Regions from separate parts of the Homo sapiens genome. Here region 2 is linked to region 1. The links are contacts of gene promoters, found by promoter capture Hi-C in blood cells and fetal thymus (Javierre and others, 2016). All regions are on one chromosome and are shown on one strand. Each heading gives the region's core, a stretch centred on a gene start or on the middle of the fragment in contact. The rest is flanking DNA. Distances are from core to core; before and after follow the strand shown.

Region 1 (6,004 bases), core at 1,103-3,602:
GTAAACCAAAGCTGTTAACATCACAACTTTGTTACATGTACTACTCATTCTGGGTATTACATACCTCCTATAATACGGAAAACAAATTCATGCAAAGGAGAAGCACACATGCTAACTGTGAGTATGAACAGATACTGAGGCTGCTCATTAAATTTGGTCCTAAATGCCAGAAACTTGAGGATCACCAGATGGAAACATATCAGGTCTGTGAGAAAAGACCAATTTTCAGCCGGGCACGGTGGGTCACGCCTGTAATCCCAGCAGTTTGGAAGACAGGGGCAGAAGGATTCCTTGAGCCCAGGAGTTCAAGACTGGCCTGAGCAATGTGGTGAAATCCCGTCTCTACAAAAAATACAAAAATTAGCAGAGTGTGGTGGTATGCACCTGTGGTCCCAGCTATTTGGGGGGCTGAGGTGGGAGGATCACTTGAGCCTGGGAGGCAGAGGTTGCAGTAAGCCCATATTGTGCCACAGCACTACACCCTGGGTGACAGAGAATCTATCTCCTTAAAAAAAAAAAAAAAAAAAAAAAAGGAGAAAGATCAACTATCTCATTATACTAAATTATAAAAGGTAAGGGTAATTTCAGTCCAGGAAATGTAATACAGAGAATGGATACCAAACAAAATAATGGGCCACTACAACATGCTTTCCCTATATATTGTTGTGTGCCAATAAAAGCTGAGGGGAGATCGAGCACGGTGGCTCATGCCTGTAATCCCAGCCCTTTGGGAGGTGGAGGCGGCAAGATGACTTGAGTCCAGGAACTCCAGACCACCCCGGGCAACATCTCTACAAAAAAATCAAACAATTAGCCAGGCACAGTGATCCGCACCTGTGGTCCTAGCAACTCAGAAGGCTGAGGTGGAGGTGGAGGGGTCGTTTGAGCCCACGAGTTCGAGGCTGCCTTGAGCTATGATGATGCTACTGTGCTCCAGTCTGGGTGGCAGAGTGAGCCCCTGTCTCTAAATACAATAAATATTCTATCCTGGCCAAGATGGTGAAACCCCGTCTCTACTAAAAATACTAAAATTAGCTGGGCGTGGTGGCACGTGCCTGTAATCCTAGCTACTCGGGATGCTGAGGCAGGAGAATCATTTGAACATCCCTCCCTCTGCGCGCTGCTGGCAGTGTCACAGACACACTCTTCCCCTTGCAGACTCTCCCTCGTCCCTCCTAGTTTCTTGCAGTGAGCCGAGATAACGCCACTGTACTCCAGCCTGGTGACAGAGCTAGACTCTAAAATTAAATAAATAAATAAAGATTAAAAATAAATAAATAAAAGTTCAGATCTCTAAACCATGGTTATCTCAGGTAAATTGTTAACTTTCACTTTTTATTTTACCATTTTAATATTTAAACTAAAATAATGTTGATTTTATGAAAAACGAGAAATATATTTCATTTAATTTCATTTATTTATTTATTTTGAGATTGAGTTTCACTCTTGTCGCCCAGGCTGGAGTGCAGTGGCACAATCTCAGCTCACTGCAACCTCCGCCTACTGGGTTCAAATGATTCTCCTGCCTCAGCCTCCCAAGTAGCTGGGACTACAGGTGCGCGCCACCACACCCGGCTAATTTTTCTATTTTTAGTAGAGACGGGTTTTCGCCACGTTGGTCAGGCTGGTCTCGAACTCCTGACCCCAGGTGATCCGCCCGCCTCGGCCTCCCAAAGTGCTGGGATTACAGGCATGAGACACCACGCCGGGCCCGATAAGTTTTTTGTTTGTTTGTTTGTTTTTTCAAGCAGAAACAATATATGCACTTTAAGGAGAAACAAGAGTGCAAGTTCTTGGAAGGACTGCAAAATCCTATGGTTAGGCATGATTACATAAATGTCATGAGGAAGTTGGGTGTCTAAATCCTTTTAAAGGCTTATTCCAAAGATAAAGGAGGCCAAGTCTGGGCCCAAGGATCCCAAGGAAGCTGCAGGGAGGGCACAAGAGCCCAAGCCTTCCTCCAGGCCCTAAAGGGATTGGGTCCCATGATAACGTTACAGAAAACTTCCTTGACGCACCAAGACCCTCCTCAAAGCCACAGTCCGCCATCGGGCCAAGTTACGAGACTCAGCAGGGACCACAAAGACGAGACTGGCGCGGGGACCGAAGCAATCAAGAGTCTCAGGGTCGAAGCCAAGGCTACTCCAGGGCTGGCCGGGTATGGGGGTCAGGTTGGACCCTGTCTAGGCTCACCTGCCGCTGTGCTAGGAAGGTCTCCCAAAGATACACTGTCCAGGAAAAGAGCAGCACGGCCCCGAAGATACGCTTCTCGGCCGGCATCTCCCACAAAGCGTCCAGCGATGCCCACATCCCCATGGCCACCCGGTTCCGCCGGCTCCTTCAGCGTGCACCGGTGCCACACCGACACTCGTCCCTTCAGAGCGTCCCCGCGGTGTCACAGCAATATCCGTTCTTTCCGAGGGCCCCTACGCCGATACCCGCCCCCATCCCTCCCTCTGCGCGCTGCTGGCAGTGTCACAGACACACTCTTCCCCTTGCAGACTCTCCCTAGTCCCTCCTAGTTTCTACAGGAAAAGCCCCAGCCCCACCTTCCTCACTTCCGGCCCAAAGAGGGCGGGGACCCAAACGCCGAGTTCCGGGCCCGGCTGAGCTGTGTTGCATCAACATTCTTCCCCCACGTCTTGACGCTGGGTTCCGGCCTAGGGTTCTGGCTTTCCTCCTGGGCTAGTGAACGCGGCGAAGTCCTCCTCTTTCTAATCTCCAGAGCCGCAGTTCCATCCTCTGGGTCAGCGGCTTACCCTGACTGGGCTGCGGTATCTGCCTTCCTTCCCCCAACAAGGCGACAGGTAGTCGGGGCTGGGGCCGGAACTGACTGAGTGGGCCGCAACTGACTGAGTGGGCCGCGGCTCCCGCCTGAGGAGGCTAGGAAGGACTGAACAGCAGCCGACTTCCCAGGCTCTAAAAATCGTGCCTCTGAGTTAGAGCTACCTCAAAAGCAAGACCAAGCATGAGAAATGGAGTCTTTTGGCCAGTATTGGGGTGTTCGGAATTCAAGCGTATGAGAGAGTGGACGGTAGCGTTGAGAATTTTCATTTGAAGATCTCGTCTTAACCACCCCAAGTGTAGTCAGAGGCGGCGTTTTCCCTGCGAGAGTGCCCTGGAACAAAGCAAGGATAGCGTGGGTTAGACATACCTGAAATGAAAGCGTCTTACTTTATCTAGGTACATATTTGCGTCAGTAAGGCGCAACGCCATTTCTCTCTTGGAATTCAGAAGTGAAATATGGTGACTGGGACGCCTGTACATTGCTTTGACTTAAAAATTGAAGTCCATTATTCTGACCGAAAGTTAATCTGATGATTAATTGGTTAAACATACTATCGTTGCTAATTAGCATAATTATTATTTACAATAAAGTGAGCTAAATAGCTACAACTAAAATATATTTAAATTACTGTGATATTGTGATGCTAAAGATGTGTTGAAATTAATATCTTGAATTTCTCAACCCTGCCTAAATGCCTCTGAGAGTAATTAGTATAATTAAAAGTCACTAGAGAAAGTGAATGACTCTAATAACAGGATAACAAATTCTTTTCAAGTCAGATGGTTTCCAGTTCTTTGCTTTCAACAAAATTAATGGTGGCCCATGAATTGTCAGCTGATGAAGGAACACTATTTGGTTTTTGGCATGCAACTCGGAAAGAAACCAAACGATTGATTGACATGCTTACAACAAAACTACTAGCATTCTCACCTATTTATGTAAAACCATTTCTCAGCACTTGTATCTGTGAAAACAACAGAATTGAAAATGAACCCTGTTAATCTACCAGTAGGAACTATTCATCCAGATAAATGAATTAATTGGTGGGTCAGCCCCATCTATCTCACTAAGAGATGTGTTCCCAATAGAATTTCACCTTTTATAACTGTGTGTTATCAATATTTGCAATCGTGTCATTTTGATCCATTATATACTAAAGATGATTGTGATGATTACTCACTTCAGAAGAATTCCAGCGTAGAGCCATAAAGTTACACGAAATTTTTTAAGGTTTACTACATATGTCATATTTTTATTGCGAAGAAGTGATCAAGAAAAGGTTGTTCAAACATCAAAGTACTATATTTGAATAACATTTTTTGTTAGAGTACAATCTAAATATGTTAGAGATAATAAAAGAACAATGTTGAAGAGCTCATTAGTGTATGTTTTAATGCATAATGGTGGTTATTCAGTTGTTATGTAGATTCTCTTGGATACATTATAAAGAGTGATTTAACAGTTTTATCTTAAAATGTCAGTATTTACAATTTGCAAGAATTTACATCCATTGCAACTATTTGAATTTATGATGGAACCAGTTAGATACCAACTTAAATATATAAGGGGTAAACACTTTTTCAAAATTTTCTCTCCCTCAGGCCATCATTGCTATGCCCTCTTCACTCTTGACTTCAGCTGTCTGTGAGTCCAAAGCCTCACAGGAGCTTCTACCACCCAAGCTTTGTGGCTAAGGGCACAGGTTTAGAGTCAAGCTGCTTGATTGCCAGCCACGGCCGCACCATGTATTAGCACGTTCTTTAATCTGTGCATCAGATCCTCATCAGTAAAATGAGAATAACATAGTATGTACTTACTTTCTCATACTGTTAGGATCAAATGAGAAAATTCATGTAAAGCTCCTAGCAATGTAGATGGCCCTGAGTGCCCAATAAAGGTTAGCTACTGCTTGGGAGAGGGGCATCATAGCATTGATCTGTCACCATGTGTCTGAAGAGATAGGAGAGTAGGAGGCCGAGGTGTCAAAAAGCCAAGACTGACTGGAATTCATTCATTCAATAAATACTGAATGTCTGCGAAATGCCAGACGCATTTCCAGGTGCCAGGGATATAGCAGTGAACCAAAGCCCCTCTCCTGGAGCTTACATTCTTAGCTGGGGTGGATGCAGTGTTTGATAAATAATAAGCAAATATTTAATAGTAAAAGTGGAAGTGGTGATAAGTGCTATGAAGAAAAAGCAGCAAAAAGGCAATACAGCATGTTGGTGTGAGGGATGCTGCTTTACATAAGTTGGTCAAGGAAGCCTTCTCAGATTAACTGGCATTTGAGTCCCCCAAAAAAAGTAAGAGAACAAGCTGTGTGGATATCTGAGGAAATTGCCAGTCAGAGTGAAGAGCAAGTGCAAAGGCCCTGAGATTGGCCAATGCTTATCATATCTGAGGAATGGCAAGAGGCTGTGGAAAGAGTAAGGAAGAGGGGGAGTGCAGATCCATGCCATCATGCAGTCTTTTAGTTAAAAGACTTTTACTTAGAATGAAAGAATAAGCCATTGCAGGATTTTGAGCAGAGCATTGCAGAGTTTTGAGCAGACAATCCTTCTCATTACAACGTGGAGAATAAATTTAATGGGGAATGGAAGGAGGGAGTGCAGTTAGGAGGCCATTTCAAGAATCCAGGTGATTTAGCAGTTGCCAAGGATATCAGAAAAAAAGAAAAAAGAATCCAGGTGAGAGATGGTAGTGCAGACTAATGTGGTGGCAGTGGAGAACTAGTGAATTATGGAAAGTGAATAATCACTTGTTTCTCTTTTCAGAAAGACAGTACTAATAGAAGGGCTGGCCTGTGTGGAGTCTAAAAATGGGAACCTCAAAACAGGCTGTTGGCAGGATTTTGCTAAAGGAGAAAGACTGGCAGGGTGTGCTGGCTCACACCTGTAATCTCAGTTCTTTGGGAGGCCAAGGTGGGATAATTGCTTGAGTGCAGGAGTTCGAGACCAGCCTAGGCAACACAGTGAGACTTCATCTCTATAAAAATAAATAAAATGACTGAATTTGAAAGATAAAGATTATTATCCCTAGAGTGATAGACATTGCTGTAGGGTAGTCCATCTACCCTGTCTAACCTAAATCATAGAGTTGCTCTCAAGCTTTTTCCCTATCTTGCCTTGATTCTCTGCTTACCAAGCATTCAAGGTCCCTTAATTGAAACTCTGGCCATAAGTGCTCTGGCCTCAAGAAAAGAATGATCCCCCTTGG
Region 2 (5,562 bases), core at 2,802-5,301, 47 kb after region 1:
TCTTTTTACTGATATTCTCTATTTACTGAGACATTGTTCTCATACTTTAGTTTTTTTTTTTTTTTTTTTTTTTTTTTGAGACAGGCTCACTCTTGTCCAGGTGGGAGTGCAGTGGCATGATCATAGTTCACTGCAGCCTTGACCTCCCAGGCTCAAGTGATCCTCCCACCTCAGTCTCATGAATAGCTGGGACTACAGGTGCACACTACCACACCCAGCTAATTTGAAAAATTTTTTTGTAGACACAGGGTCTCTACATGTTGCACATGTAGATGTTGCTCAGGCTGGTCTCAAGAGCTCCTCCCACCTCGGCCTCCCAAAGTGCTGGGATTACAGGTGTGAGGCACCTCACCTGGCCTCCTTTAATTCTTTAAGCATGTTTCCTTTAGTTCTCTGAATATATAGTTGGGCCTCACTATTTGCAGATTCTGTATTTGTGTATTAGCCTACTTGCTAAAATTTATTTGTAAAACCCCCAAATCAATAATCAGAGCACTTCTGTGATCACTTCACAAACATGCGCAGTGTGACAAAAAAATTTGAGCCACCTGACAGGCATATTACCAGCTGAGGTCAAAGGTGATATTCTTATGAGATTTATTTCTTTTTCTTGAGTAAAACCTCCTCAGATTGCTGTAAAGCCTTTATTTTTCAGAGTTCTAAAAAAGTTAATCTTATTCACTCTCTGGTTTCAAATGGTGATTAGAACTCTTAATTTCCAGCTCAGACCTCTAAATCTCACATTGTATGAACACTGTCTGTTGTTTCTCTCCCTTTTGTCTTGTTCATTCTTGTAACCCCATTGCCCAGCAGACACCTCCAATGAATGTATACTGAATAAATGGAAGGCATTTCTGCATTATTTCTTGTAATTACATGTGAATCTAAAATTACCTCAAAATAAAATATCTAATTTTACTTAAAAAAGAAAAAGGATCACCTTGGCCACTGCAGAAAACAAATTAGGAAAAGGCAAGATTAGATACAGTTAGAAAGGTTTCAAAATAATCAGGCAATTAAACAACAGTAATAACAGGCATAAGAGGCAGCCAACTGGCATAACAGAAGGTGGGTACAGGCAGCATACTTACGTTCCTAAGTTATTTTCCTGCTTAGGCTATCAATGTAAACTAGTATTCCGGCCAGTGCCATTAATATTTTATCATTACCTTTCTCTAGAATAGTGGTTTTCAATGCAGTATTTCCCTGATTAGTTCTGAGGTATACTGAAAACAATTTGTTCCTAGTAATAGATTTTAAAAATCAAAGTTGATAAATGTTTTATTTTTTCAAAAAGGAATCAAAGTAGATTTAAGCTTATTCATATAATAATACTTCATTCACTTGCATCCTTGAGTAGAAGAAAGGTGGGAGTTACAGTTAGCAAACTTACATTTCAAGTAACCCTAGATATCTTTGGGAAAATCATCTGTTAGCTTCAAAGACATTACCTGGGAAAAAAGAATACTGACCAGTTTTAAAAACATGAGACTCCTTTTAAACTGCAGTAATGCTACAGACCAGTACTATGATGCTGCACGGACCTTGTATATTTCTTAAAGAAATAAATGGTCACCAATGCTTCCATTTAAACCCTATCACAGTGTGTATCTGAAAGAAGGCTGAAACGTCCTGCTGAATTCTTGACAATATGTCTGATCGACTCTTCATAATGACCCCCTCCAGTGCAATCATACACCAACCAAAATACCCACACATAACCCATGAAAGTAAGATCAGAAGTGAGATCCAGATGCATACAAAGTTCTGGGAAGACGTCTCTTCAAAGCTATTTGAAAGAACTGTGCTTTAGGAGATAAAATACCTAAACAAGCAAATCCTCAATTTCTTTACACAGACTTTCTGTCATTAGTGTATTCTGAGTGTATTATCTCATTCCTTGTATGATCACAAGGATAAAGTAGAAGTATTAAGACTTTCAAAATAATCAGGCAATTAAACACCAATGGTCTAACAGGCAGCCAATTAGCATAAAAGAAGGTGGTGGAGGTGGCATATTTTAAACTTAATTAAACCTTTTGTAATTATTCCTTGTTCAGAGTTCATCTTAATCTTGATTCTTACTTAAACTACATCTGGAATTTCTATACTCCTGTTTACTTTTTCTTCTACTCCCAAACTGAATTCCCACTGGGTCCTGTTTAAAGGTATCTGCTCTATCATTTATACCTAGTGACTGTGTCAATTCCCAACAGTGTTAGGCTGGTAAGTAAATTGGATCCTGTTTGTCCTTTCCTTTCCCCATCAGGAAAAGAAACAACCATCTGCTATTGTGTCTATCAACCACGTCAGATACCGAAGATGTAGTTCATTCAGGGATTAAGAATGAAACGGACCCCTGCCTTAACTGCGCCAAGAACTCTGCTGACAGATTTCTTGAGCTCTTTAAAATAGAAGTGCTTGATGTTTAAAATGTTATCTTTTCTATGTTGAAAACCTGATCTTTGCAAAGACTTCCCCTTTCAGTAATGAAAAAATATAGGAAACATCCACTTGGGACACTGAGCCACTGCCAAGTCTATAACTTTTATTAAAATCCTTTAATATGTAAAGTTAATAGCAATGTCATCTCATTCAATTCTACATAAATAAAGTATCACAACCTAAAACTCCAGGATTCCATGAAATTCTTCTGCCTTCCAGACCTACCAGATATCTGAAAGGACTCACTCTTTACCCACTAGGTTCTGAATTTTGACTTTCAGATGACCCAGTCAATTAATCTTAATTGTATGTGTCTGGCTAAATCTTCCCCAGCAGCGGTTTCCCATTACATATGCCTATTATTGGGATACCCCCAGGTACCAACATACAATGTACTTTTATTCCCAGCTGTTGCTCAAGTTAACTCTTCTCCTGAACTCAGGTGAAGTAGATGGCAAATATGTGTGTAACTCTGCTACTTTAGAACGTATGCTGAATTTAAACTCTAATTAATCAACATCTGGTGACTCACTAGTAATTTTCCAAAGCAAACTACAGATTATTTTTAATTCTGTTGACACTTGCAAAAGAAAAGTATCACTAGGATAAGAGACTGACTAGTGGCTGGGCGTGATGGCTCATGCCTTGTAATCCCAGCACTTTGGGAGGCCGAGGCGGGCGGATAACAGGAGGTCAGGAGTTTGAGACCAGCTGGTCACCAGTAGAAACGGTGAAACCCCGTTTCTACTAAAAATACAAAAATTAGCCAGGCGTGGTGGCACGTGCCCGTAATCCCAGCTACTCGGGAGGCTGAAGCAGGAGAATCACTTGAACCCGAGAGGCAGAGGTTGCAGTGAGCCGATATCACGCCATTGCACTCCAGCTTGGGCAACAAGAGTGAAACACCATCTCAAAGAAAAAGAAAGGAAAAAAAAAGACTGACTAGTTATGATGATACGATGATACTAGGGTTCCTTTAAAATAATTTTAAGATAACTTTATGTGTACTAAATGTTTTGCATTGGTATATTTAACAAATTAATCCACATCATGATAAAAATGTTTTAAATCACACCTATATGTATAAATATGAACAGAATGATATATCACCAAGATGTTCCCAATCAGACCATGGCTTATCAATGTCTAACACATGGAAATAGGTGGTAGAGTGGAAAGAAGGCTGACCAAGGAGCCAGGTGACCTGCATTCCAGCTGGGCTTGGCCTTTCTAATTAGCTTAATGCAGGAAGGGCCTTGGAAACATTATCAGCTTGGCTTCAGTTTCATCACGTGTAGAACACGGAGGGTTAGACCAACCGATATTAAACCACTGAAATAGACTGGAAAATTTAATTCTTGTAGAGCAGAGGTTAGCAAATATTTTTCGTACAAGGACAGACAGAAAATATTTTTAGCTTTTCTGGCCAGAGAGTTTCTGTTACAACTACTCACCTCTGCCACTGTAGCACAAAAGCAGCCACAGACAAGAAATGAATGTAAGACTTTGTGCCAGTAAAGCTTTATTTATAAAAACAGGTAGCTGGGTGGGTGCCAACCCCCTGTTGTGAATAGTATCAAATCGTATTTCCTATAACACAGTTCCCTGCAAACTCAACACAATCAGGAAAAATCCTGTTTCCAAACATTGTTATTAATAAACCAGGAAAGATCATGTATAAAACAAAGCTTATCATCTTCCCAGACTCTCCCTTGTCCCTCCACCCATTCTTTCTTCTAATTAGCAGCAGAGCACCACTATTCTTCCAGTCTCCCAAGCTAGAAGCCTTATGAGCCTCTTGAAGGTATCTCTGTACATCCTCCTCTGTTTTTGCCCGGTCAGCAAGTCCTGTCCTTTGTCCTCTTGCTGGCTACAATCTCTTGTCCTAAACATAATACATATTCTTTCTGTCTAGTCTTCCTAAAACACCACTTCAGACATGTCACTTCCTAACTGCAAAGCCTTCTTAATTTCTACTGCATCAAATCTAACCATTAATGCAATGGAGTTTCCAAGCCCTTCTTTTCCAACCCCAACAGGTCTTATTTCTCACAAGACTTCAATAACCACTCTGCCCTAAGCAGGGTATTTATTCTCCAGTGGATCCCTGCAAAGTACTCATTAGTACCTGTGCTTTACTACCATTCAGTCATCTCCAAACCATTCTTTCCACCCATCCAAACCCCACCATTACTTAAAGCTCCAATTCAAGGATCAATTTTTCTATAAACACAGAATTCTCTATCTTTACACTTCTACTGAATTTAGGGCAGTAATCATTGAGCTTAGTACTTCTCTTTCTGTAACTATTTTTGGCAAACAAACTGGGCCATACAGTTTGCTGTATTTGCCAATGCCTAATACAACATTAGAAACAAAACGGGTTTTAATTAAGCAAAGGCTGAGAGAGTAAAGTTGTTATTATTACAGGATGAGGAATCAAACCCAAAATGTAGTGTTTTGCTGCTGCTTTTGAATTGTTTTGGCATGTGTCAGGTGCTGAGAATAACCATTACTACATCTCAGTCTGATTAACTTTCCCAAACATAAAATACTGCAGCTGCTATTAGAGGTAAGCAATCTATCTCCTTACACTACCTGATACTGCAAATAAATAAATTAGCATACAGGTTTATAGTTGGTCTCTTATGATCGCCTTTTTTTTTTTTTTTTAAGACGGAGTCTCGCCCTGTCGCCCCAGCTCGAGTGCAAATGGCACGATCCTGGCTTACTGCAACCTCTGCCTCCTGGGTTCAAGTGATTCTCTTGCCTCAGCCTCCTGAGTAGATGGGATTACAGGCGCACACCACCACACCTGACTAATTTTTTGTATCTTTAGTAGAGACAAGGTTTCACCATGTTAGCCAGGCTGGTCTTGAACTCCTGATCTCATGATCTGCCCGCCTCGGCCTCCCAAAGTGTTGGGATTACAGGCATGAGCCACTCTGTCCAGCCCATATGACTGCTTTTAAAAATGTAGATGAAGTCATAGGAGGCTATCTCTGTGTATACCACATTGTTTCTCTGTGCAAATTCAGGTTTCACCTCTGATCAATCTTGACTTCGACGGATCCTCCCTAGTTCTGCACCCCAGGCTTAAAGAATTCTTATACTAGG

The links. The method cuts DNA at HindIII sites, captures the fragments that hold promoters and counts their contacts. A CHiCAGO score of 5 or more calls a contact.
Region 2: a contact is called between a fragment that was not itself captured here and the fragment with the promoter of ZMPSTE24 in region 1, in 4 of 17 cell types (naive B cells, megakaryocytes, naive CD4 T cells and 1 more). The highest score is 6.7, in naive B cells.

What each region holds. Positions count from the first base shown.
Region 1 is chr1:40,254,584-40,260,587 of GRCh38, reverse strand. ZMPSTE24 (zinc metallopeptidase STE24) reads right to left here and starts at 2,352. Exons shown (of 10, transcript NM_005857.5): 1 at 2,194-2,352. The coding sequence starts at 2,316. RefSeq lists enhancers at 1,942-2,041, 2,132-2,411, 2,492-2,761, 2,992-3,121. The HindIII fragment of the contact is 15,848 bases long and covers 1-4,472 here.
Region 2 is chr1:40,209,434-40,214,995 of GRCh38, reverse strand. All of the region lies in intron 5 of RLF (RLF zinc finger), which reads right to left. Among named protein-coding and RNA genes, the nearest start is that of TMCO2, 36 kb to the left of the region's middle. The HindIII fragment of the contact is 168 bases long and covers 3,968-4,135 here.